Linked DNA regions of Homo sapiens: region 1 is linked to region 2. Evidence: promoter capture Hi-C in 16 types of primary human blood cells and fetal thymus (Javierre and others, 2016). All regions are on one chromosome and are shown on one strand. Each heading gives the region's core, a stretch centred on a gene start or on the middle of the fragment in contact. The rest is flanking DNA. Distances are from core to core; before and after follow the strand shown.

What was found. The method cuts DNA at HindIII sites, captures the fragments that hold promoters and counts their contacts. A CHiCAGO score of 5 or more calls a contact.
Region 1: a contact is called between the fragment with the promoter of ENTPD7 here and the fragment with the promoter of HPS1 in region 2, in 4 of 17 cell types (non-activated CD4 T cells, naive CD8 T cells, total CD8 T cells and 1 more). The highest score is 9.3, in non-activated CD4 T cells.

What each region holds. Positions count from the first base shown.
Region 1 is chr10:99,658,088-99,663,348 of GRCh38, forward strand. It overlaps ENTPD7 (ectonucleoside triphosphate diphosphohydrolase 7), which reads left to right and starts at 1,422. Exons shown (of 13, transcript NM_020354.5): 1 at 1,422-1,501; 2 at 1,775-1,877; 3 at 3,359-3,541. The coding sequence starts at 1,870. It also overlaps a transcript of SLC25A28 not described here. RefSeq lists silencers at 1,101-1,310, 1,431-1,650. The HindIII fragment of the contact is 2,116 bases long and covers 194-2,309 here.
Region 2 is chr10:98,444,862-98,450,004 of GRCh38, forward strand. It overlaps HPS1 (HPS1 biogenesis of lysosomal organelles complex 3 subunit 1), which reads right to left and starts at 2,074. Exons shown (of 20, transcript NM_000195.5): 1 at 1,946-2,074; 2 at 439-543. HPS1-AS1 (HPS1 antisense RNA 1) reads left to right here and starts at 1,460. Exons shown (of 3, transcript NR_134454.1): 1 at 1,460-1,896. RefSeq lists a silencer at 1,892-2,241. The HindIII fragment of the contact is 10,907 bases long and covers 1-5,143 here.

The DNA.
Region 1 (5,261 bases), core at 172-2,671, 1.2 Mb after region 2:
TTGAGGTGGGAGGATCGCTTGCTCAGGAGGTCGAGGCTGCAGTGAACCACGATCGCACCACTGCACTCCAGCCTGGATGACAACAGAGTGAGACCCTGTAGGTAATTAAGTAAGTAAGTAGTTTTCCTAATGTCCTGACAGGCTTTGAGTCGGCCAAATGCAAGTGATGGTGACTGACTCCCTTGTCATAGTAAGCTTTGAATAAATAAAGCATTTGGGTGGTCTTCCTCCCCGATCCCCCCCATTCATTCATTTGCTTATTAATTATACATTAGTTGTGTTTTATCTGCCAGGCAGTGGCCAGTATTGGGAATATGTGGAAGCAAATAGTCCCTGCCTTCAAGGATATTCTGTCTAGTGGGACAGACAGACAGACATATACGTATAATAGTAATTCAACGTGCTAAGTGAAACAATAGGCATGTATAAAAAAGGTGTAGTAGGTCAAGTAGGGCTTTTAGGGGAAGGCGACCCTTAAGATGGGTGGTAAGGGATGAGTAGGAGGTGATTTGGCTAAGAGGCTGGGACGGTTATTCAAGGCAGGTGGAGGGGCAGAATGAGCAAAACAGGACGCGTTGCTGGAGCGTGGTAAGGAAGGCAAGTAGCGGCAGAGGACGGCGGTAGGGCGGATCGTGGGGCGCAATGGATGTGCCACGTTGGAAAGAGCTTGGACTTTATGCCGTCCTCCTGGAAATGAGATAACGGCTGGTGTAAGCAAGAAAGAAACACACACACACCCACGCGCGCGCGTCGTTTCCTTTGTGTTACTGTAAGGTCAAGGAGGGCGGCGACACAGAAATTCATGATGACTGGCATAAGCAGACATTCAATGAATGAATGAATGGACATAAGCACTTTGGTGTAAACGTCATTGTCTTCGATTTCTGTTTTCTCACGGGGCAAGACAGTGAGGTCGGGGCATCAGTTTGGGAGGTGATAGGGAAGGTTTAAGGTGAGAGAACTGCCATTCTGGTAGGGAGGGTCAGTGGGCACAAAACCAACAATAGGTTATGGGCAAGGGATGCGCTTCGGTCGCGAACACCCTGAACCCACCTACCGGAGCTACTCTGTCCCAGGAGCGGCCGTGGAGAAAGCAACCAGCCGAGAGTTCGCGCCCCAGGGAGGGAAGCGGGCACAGGGCCGCCCAGCGCCACTCACCTGTGAGCTCTCCGCGGGCCCTGCAGGCGGAGCCTCGGTACGACGCCTTTCCGATTGGGCGCGGCTCAAAGTCCCGGGGCGGGCATCAGAGGCCGAGCGCTCTAGGGGATTGGCCACCCTGGCGGACGGACGTGCTGCTGACCGAGCTGGTTCGCCCCCGGTTCGGCTCGTGGAGAGCCGGCCCCTCCGTGAGTCTTCTGTCAGTCATTGGCTCCCTGCGGTTTCCTTGGGGACGTGGCGCCGCCGCCGGCCGGGCCCTCCTTCCGGCTGGGCAAGGGGCCGCGGGGAGCAGCTCGGGACTGAACCGAGAGGTGCCGAAGGAACCGGCGGGCCGCTTGATCCCGTGAGTGTGGGCGCGAGAGGGCTGTGGGACCCGGAGGGACGGGGAGAGGAAGCGGGACCCACACCCCGCCACCTGGGGACGACCGGTTCCTAGAGGACAGAGCTGGCCCACGAGAACGCCCCGCTCCCAGGATGCCCGGGTAGGGTCCCCTGGGCCTGAGGAACCAGAGCAGACGGAGCGGGAGCCTGGGGAGGAGGTGGGAGCCGTGGAATTCCCGTGCAGGTTTGTCTCGTGGGCTCAGTCGGACAGAAGCCTGAAATCAAATCTTTCTAGGCTGCAGACGTAGGAGATGCCTGGGACAAGGAGGCCACCTTCTCAGGGCAAAAGAAAAAGAAGGTGACAGGCGTTGAGACCACCGAAGGGAACCCATGGCTAGGTAAGGCTGCACACTTTCCCTCCGGCTGGGAGCACGGCAGAGGATGGCAGGCAGGTTGGGGGGCCCTGGGAGGCTGTCCCAAGTGAGGTTTGCCCTGGAGCTGCACTTGGACTTTGTATTCTGGTTAGTTGGATGCAGAGACGATCAAAGTTGTATTATTTCGAGGGCTGATAAATAATAGTTTCTAGCCCATAGACCAGGAGTGGTAGAGTGAGTCGGCTTGCTCAGCTCTGTAAAGTGCAAGGTTGTAACATTGATTCAGATTCGCATCTGAGCAAGGCTAGGTGCCACTTGAGGAGGTTAAACAAAGAAGTTTTTTTGTTTTTTGTTTGCAGTGAACTTTAAAAGCAGACAGACCGAGGTCCTTTTGAATCAATATACAAAGTGAACTTCACAGATGAATACACTTATCCATACATTATAATAACCTGAAGCTTTTAAAAAATATTAATGTGGATCTACATGCACCAATAAGGGAAAGTTATAAAATAAAGTGGGGGAAAGATGCAGAACAGCAGGTATGGTGGACTACCATTTGTGTAAAACCGAGGGAATGGATACGCACACACACACACACACACACACACACACACACACAGAGATATATTACTGTAAATATATTGGTGTATATTTATGCTTGTGTATCCGTAGAATATCCCTGGAAAGATACACAGCAACGGCCAGGTGCAGTAGCTCACGCCTGTAATCCCAGCACTTTGGGAGGCCAAGGCAGGCAGATCACCTGAGGTCAGGAGTTCAGGACCAGCCTGGCCAAGTAGAAACCCGGTCTCTACTAAAAATACGAAAATTAGCCGGGTGTGGTGGCAGTCACCTGTAATCCCAGCTACTGGGGAGGCTGAGGGAGAAGAATCGCTTGAACCCAGGAGGTGGAGGTTGCAGTGAGCTGAGATTGCGCTACTACACTCCAGCCTGGGCAACAGAGCAAGACTCCATCTCAAAAAAAAAAAAAATTACACAGCAACTGGGTAGTAATGTTTGCCTCTGAGAGATTGTGGGGTCAGGGCAAGAATCACTTTTCACTATACAATATATCCTTTTAAACTGATTTGTCTTTTACTATGTGCTTGTATAATCTGGTAAAACATTTTTAAAATCAGTTAAATAAATTTTCTGACCATCCTGTTTCTTGACAGAATTCTTGGTTGGGAATACTGTAGTTGCTCTGATTCTCCAATGTTATGAGGTTGCCCAGGGAGACTGGTGATCTTTTCACTAACATGAGATTAAGTCTTTGAATTGCACTCAAAGTGCAGTTTGGAAAAAGGGCAGATAAGGCTTTTCTGATATATATAGTAGAAGCACCATGAGCTTCTTCTAAAATTAGAGATGACAAGAACATTTAGACTTCTGTTGGCATGGATTTTTGCCTTTATTAGGAGGGTTTTATCCAATTTTAAAACGATATTTAAGCACTCAGTTGTAGAAATGTTTCAGACTTACTAATGTTTGTCTAATTTCAGGATCAGTTTTTCCTACCTCTGCCCAGCCTCCTGGTACTTCACTGTGCCCACAGTGAGTCCATTTCTCCGTCAGCGGGTGGCATTCCTGGGACTCTTCTTCATATCCTGTCTCCTTTTACTTATGTTAATCATAGACTTTCGACATTGGAGTGCTTCATTACCACGAGATAGGCAATACGAAAGGTGAGTCAGCTTTAGATTTTGGCACTCAAGTCATAAATATTTTCATAAGCTGTTTAACACACTACTGACTTTGACCCTTTTGGGTGATACTGTACTTTTATTAGTAAAATTGCATGCCATTTATTACATAAAGAAGATTTTAAGCCCTATTTTGGCAATATGCAGTTTGGTACAGGAATACTGATACTGCATGAAAGGCATCTTTGTGTTTTCTTGTTTTGGTGGGCTGAAACTTATTGTGTGTATAAATGTTTAGGACTGTATTATACCTTTATGAATGGACCCCTTTATCATTATTAAATGATTTTCTTTATCCTTGATTATATACTTTGCTCTGAAATCTACTAGTCTGGTATTAATATAGCTACTCCAACTTTCTTTTGATTAACATTAGCATGACAGATATTTCTTCTATAGTTTTAGTTTTAGCCTATTGGTGTCTTTATATAAGTGGGCTTCTTGTAGTCAGTGTTTGGTTGGGTCTTGTTTTTTTATCCAATCTGACTATCTCTGCAGTTAATTGGGGTGTTCGGGCCATTTATATTTAATCTGATTATTTAGTATGTTTAGTTTTAATCTTGCTATGTGTTTTTCATTTGTCACATTTGTTCTTGTTCTTTTTCCTCTTTTTCCCTCTTCTTTTCAGTTGAGCACAGTTTTTATGTTTCCATTTTATCTCTCATGTTGGCTTATTAGATATAACTTCTTCTTTTTTTAGTGGTTACTTTAAAGTTTATAGTGTCATCTTTAATTATCACAATCTTCCTTCAAGTAATATTACTCCTCTTCACATCTAGAACAAGAACCTAACAACAGTATACTTTCATTCCTCCCTTCCCCTTGGTCTTTCTGCTACTGTCATGTATTTTATTTCTACATGTTATAAGCTCCACAATATATTGTTATTATTTTTGTGTTAGTCAATTGTCTTTTGAAGAGATTTTCAATATAAGAAAAAAAGGCTTATGTATTTAACCATATTGTTGCCTGAAAGGGTCATATAAGCAAAGTGACCCTTGAATGCTGAAGGGACGGAGAAACCAAAGGAGGAGGCAGGCAAATTGTTCGTTGGTATTCATTGATTTATTGAGGGAATTTGCAGACAGAAGCGTGGCCCTGGGTAGCTGCAAGACAGATAGATCTCCATACTGTTACTCCCCAGACCCAGGGCTTATATAGTACAGGGAGATGGTATATGCACCCTGTGCAAGACAATTAAAGACAGCCCTCCAGAACAGGTAAGAATGCTGCATGTGCCATATCCTGTCATTTGTGTGCCAACACCAAGGTTGACATGTTCTTACAGTAGTAAATAAAGCAGGAATCAAGAGGCATTTACGGGACTGAGGCTAGTCAGAAGTCAATGTGGCAGATTAACATCCAAGATGGAGTCACTTTTGTCTATATTTACCATTTCTGGTCTGCTTCATTCCTTTGTGTAGATCCATATTTCCATCTGGATCCATATTTCCATATTTGCTTTTACCTCAAGAACATTCTCTAGCATTTCTAGTAGAGCAAGTATGCGGTGATAAATTCTTTCAACTTTTATATGACTGAAAAAGTCCCTATTTTGCTTTCCTTTTGAAAGAAATGTTCATTGGGTATAGAACTCTAGGTTGATCATTTTTTTTCCTTTCATTACTTTAAAGATGATGCTTCACTGTCTTTTGGCTTGCATTCTTTCTGAGATGTCTGCTGTCCTTTTAATCTTTGTTCT
Region 2 (5,143 bases), core at 824-3,323:
AGGCTGCTCTGGGACTCCCAGGTACATGTGACAAAGCTGACCAGAGTGTATGGGTTAGGGAGCAGTGGGCTATGGAATGGAGGCTGTGGTTGTGAGCGGAGAAGTGACCGGCTGGCTGGAGATGGGCAGGTCAAGGTCATGAAGGCGGTCATCTAGGTGCGGGTGTCAGGTAATGAGTGCTCACCCCTTGGTGGGGGCTGGGAGGAGCTTTAAAGATGCAGCAGGCTGTGATGACCTGCCTGGATTCGAGGGGTGAAGGAGAGATGAGGCATCAGGATGGGGGTGGCCTCAGGATGCAGGGCTGGGGAGGGGATGAGCAGGTGTGCAGAGCCCAGTAGCACTCAGTCCACTGCCTACCTCATTCCATCTGCCTCCCAAAGCCCCAGGGTGGATGCTGCCTGCCTCCCTGTCCTCCCCAGGTGGGGCAAGATCATCTACCTTGGCAAGCACAGTGGAGCATCCAGACGGCCAGAGGTTCAGAAAGGGCTGCAGCAGACCGACTCGGTGACTGGCTCATGGGAGAGCAGCACAGCATCCCTGGTCCTGCAAATGCTTAAAACAGAGAGAATATGAGGGCAGGCAGATGCCCTGGTCTTGACTGCTGCCCGTTGAGAAAGGACAAGCTGGAGAAGGGCTGCGTGGTCCCTGGTCTCTCCAGGCCCTGAGGCAGTCTGCTAAGAACATATCTGGGATCCTGCCCCTCACCTCCCATAATGGAGAATAGGAACCCGGCCAGCACAGCCCTTTGCACAGAGCAGGTGCCCACTTTTGTTCCTTCCTCCTTTGTTCCCATGAAGTGCTCTCACTTCTGCGGGTCACTCAGAGCTCCCCAAGCAGCCCCAGGGAGCTTGCTAGGAGTGACTGACGGGAGACAGCATAGCACATCCCAGGTGGTGAGGATGCAGTCCCGGTGAAGGGAGTGGGGATCCTGGGATGATACGATGAATGGAAGGAAACTAACAGGAAAGGCATCTGGGACCAGGTTCTAGTTTTGGCTTTGCCAAGTCCCATAAACCTCTCTGAGCCTCAAACTCCTGCGGAGAAACAGAGCAACATCCCCTACTCTACCTCCCTACAGGGTTAGATCATGGGAGTGACCAGGCAAGCTGCAAAGTAACCTTAGCAAACTGCGTTCTTACATAGGTGTGGGGATCATTATTCCTATTTCCCAGCTTCCCTTCTTCAAATAACAGGATTAATCAATCTGGTTCCGGAATCATTCATATTTGAATAGAGGGCAGGAACAACAGAAAACTTAATTAGGAAGTCAAGCACTGTGAGCCAGTAAGAGGCAAGTGACTACCCGCCACAGAGACTGCTGTTACGAGTTCGGCCTTTAGCAGCCGAACCCTGAGACGGGCTCCATCACCCACATGATTGGCCCGAATGCCATATTCCCGAAACAGGGGGATGCTTCCCAAAGGCTGCTGGGAAGAGAACCTCGCCGGTGTCACACTGAGACTTCCGCTTCACCTCGCTATCTTGCCCTAGAAAGGGAACTCGGAGGGGACTCACTGACGAAAGGAGCTCCAGATGGCGGGGGGCCAACCTGGGGCGACCCCCAGCGCCCACTTTCACCATCTGGACCCCAGCAAACCTCCCTGTGGCCCTTGGTCCCGTCTTCAGCAGCTCCTTCTGGGGTCCCACACCTTCGGAGCCCGGCCCTGCCCCTGAGTCTCTGGAGAGAGCGAGTCAGCAGTTCGCCGCCGCGGGGCTCCCGTTTGCCTAGCACGCCAGTTTCTGTCCAGTTTCACCCCAAATCCCCACCTCCCCCCACCCCCGAACCTCACGGCCACCCTGGGAAGGAGGCTTGACTTGTGACATCCACCCCTCTTCACGGCTGAGGAACTTTGGCCCCGAGCGAGGAAGCGACCGGCCCACGGCCACACGCCCGGAGTGGGTGAGGCTAGGAGTGGGCCCGCTCCGGGACCCCTAGGGACCCTACCTCACTTCCGGGAGGGTTGAAGGGGGGCTCCGGAGGGAGGATCGCCGCCCCCAGAGGGGACAGCCCGGAGGCCCACGTACCGGATCGCGGCGCGCACAGCGCCCCGCCTGCAGGAGCCCGGGCGCGCTTCCGGGTAGGACCGCGTGATCGCGCACGTGACCGCCCGCCCCGGGAGGGGCCGGAGCCGCCGTCGCCTTCCGCGGGTTCGAGCCCCGCCCCTGCCAGGCCTTGCCCATGCCCCATTTTACAGAAGAGGAAACGGAGGCGCAGAGAGAAGAAATAACTTGCTGAGGGTCCGAACCAGGCTCAGAACCCAGGTTTCCTGGCTCCTCAGCTGATCCCTTCTCTCCTCCCCATGCCCCGGAACCTCAGGCTTTGCCTAATGAACTGAAGTTCTGGGGCTAGAGCTGTCCTTTTGTGACTGCTCTCCCTGACCTTTGGGGAGGTGACATAGCGCACAGAAGGGCTCAGTTGCCCCCAGAGTGCCAACGCTGGAATTTATAGGAGTTCTCAATCTATTTTGGGAGTGGAGTGCACATTAGGAGTTTTGTGTTGAACCTATGTTTGCAATATTTATTTTAAAAAATCGTATGTGTATTGGGGGTGCCTGGAAGTGGAGGGGGCGCTCTGGAAGGGCCTAAATCCCCGAACAGTCCACCCCTCAGTGCCTGGGTGCCACCTGGGAGCTTTGAGCCCAGCCCAGCAAGGTATGGGTTGCAAGAACTGGCTGGGGATATAGTAGATTGAGCATCTCTTGGGGGAAAGGCAGAGGCTAAGAATCAATACTTCCACCACCTGCAGATCAAAGAGAGCATCACTCCCCCCAACCCACTACCCACCCCTTCCAGCCCACCTTAGGGCAAATTCTTCCAACTCCCCATCTACAGCACATAGCCCTGCCACACGCATCTCTTTGCTCAGCCCACCGTTGAGATCGTTCACTCACTATGCTTTCAGTGGTCGAATGAATTCCATCAAATGGATATGCTGTTATTTACTTATTCATTCCCCTACTGGTAATTTCCATTTCCCAACTGCAATGTATGAGGATTCTGATTTCTCCACATCCTCACCAATGCTTGTTATTGTTGATTTTTTTTTTTTTAAGTATAGTAACCCAGCGTGGAGTGGTGTCTTGTGATTTTATTTGCACTTCCCTGACGTTCGGCATCTTTTCATGTGCTTTTTGCCTATTTGTGTACCTTCTCTGGAGAAATGTCTATTCAAATCCTTTATCCATTTTTAAATTGTCTTTATTATTGAGTTGTAAGAGTTCTTTATATGCTCTGGTTACAAGCCCCTTATCAGATACTTGATTTGCAAAAGTTTTTTTCCCATTATGTGGCTTGTCTTTTCACTTTCTTAGTGGTATCATTTGTAGCACCAAAGTTTTACATTTTTATGTAATCCAATATAATCTATTTTTTAGTTATGTACGGGTTTTTTGTGTCAACATGTTTCTTTTTTTCAAATTTGTTTGTGGTAAAATACATATAATGTAAAATTGATCATTAAGCATTTTAAGTGTATTGTTCAGTGGTATTAACTACATTCCTAATGCTATGCAGCCATCACCACCATCCATCTCCACAGCTCTTTTCATCTTTTAAAACTGAAACTATATCCATTAAGCAATAATGCTGGCCGGGTGTGGTGGCTCACACCTGTAATCCCAACACTTTGGGAGGTCAAGGCGGGCGGATCACAAAGTCAGGAGTTTGAGGTCACCCTAGCCAACATGGTGAAACCCTGTCTCTACTAAAAATACAAAATTAGCAGGGTGTGGTGGCACACAGCTGTAGTCCCAGTGACTCAGGAGGCTGAGTCAGGAGAATTGCTGGTACCAAGGAGGCAGAGGTTGCAGTGAGCCAAGATCATGCCACTGCACTCCAGCCTGGGCAACGGAGCGAGACTCCCATCTCAAAAACAACAACAAAAACAACAACAACAACAATTCTTCATTCCTCCTCATAGCAACCACAATGTTACTTTCTGTCTCTATGAATTTGACTACTCTAAGTACCTCATATAAGTAGAATCATACAGTATTTGTCTTTTTATGACTGGCTTATTTCACTTAGCATAATATTCTCAAGGTGCATTCATGTTGTAGCATATGTGAGAATTCCTTCCTTTTTTCTTTATTTTTAAGCCTAAATAATACTCTATAGTCTGTATATACTACATTTTGCTTATCCATTTATCTGCTGATGGACAATTGGGTTACATCCATTGTGAATAAGGCCATTATGAACATGAGTGTACAAATATCTCTTTGAGACTCTGCTTTCAATTCTTTTGGGCATATACCCAGAAGAGAAACTGCTAGATCATATGGTAATTCTATTTTTAATTTTTTAAGGAACTACCATACTGTTTTCCACAGCAGCTGCATCATTTTACATTCCCAACCTGGAACAAGTGTTCCAGTTTACCCACATCTTTGTCAACACTTGCTATTTTCTATTTTCTTTAAAATTTTTATAGTAGCCATCCTAATGGGTGTGAGGTAGTTCAACATAAGTTTATATTTCTCTTAGGTAAATATCTACTCATGGGATTGCTGGGCTGTATGGTAAGTCTGTGTTTAAATTTATATTAAACTGCTGAACCATTTTCCAAAGTGGATGTACCATTTTACATTCCTTCTAGCAACACTGAGAGGTGTAATTGCTCTGTAGTCTTGTTAGCACTTGATATTGTCCTATTTTAACTTTAGCCATTCTAGTAGGTATGTGGTAGTATGTTAAGTGTTCAAATTTTGCCTATTTAAAAATTGGATTGTTTGTCTTATTATTTATTTATGTGTTTGAATTCAAGCCCTTTATTATATTTTTTTTTCCCAGTCTGTGGCTTTGTCTTTTCATTTTCTTTACAGTGACTTTTGAAGAGCAGAAATCTTTGTGCATTTTGTGTCCTATGTAAAGTCTCTGCTTAGCCAGGGTCACAGAGATTTTCTCCTGTTTTTTCTTTTTTGCAGAAATTTAATAGTCGTAGATTTTGTCTTTAGGTTCACAATCCATTTTGAGTTAATTTTTGTGTGTGATGTGAAAGAAGGTTGAGGTTTTAGTCTTTTGTGTGTGTGTGTGTGTGTGTGTGTGTGTGTGTTTTGTATATAGATGTCCAATTTTTCTAGAACCATTTGTTGAAAAAAAATATTTTCTCAGCCAGGCGTGGTGGCTCATGCCTGTAATCCCA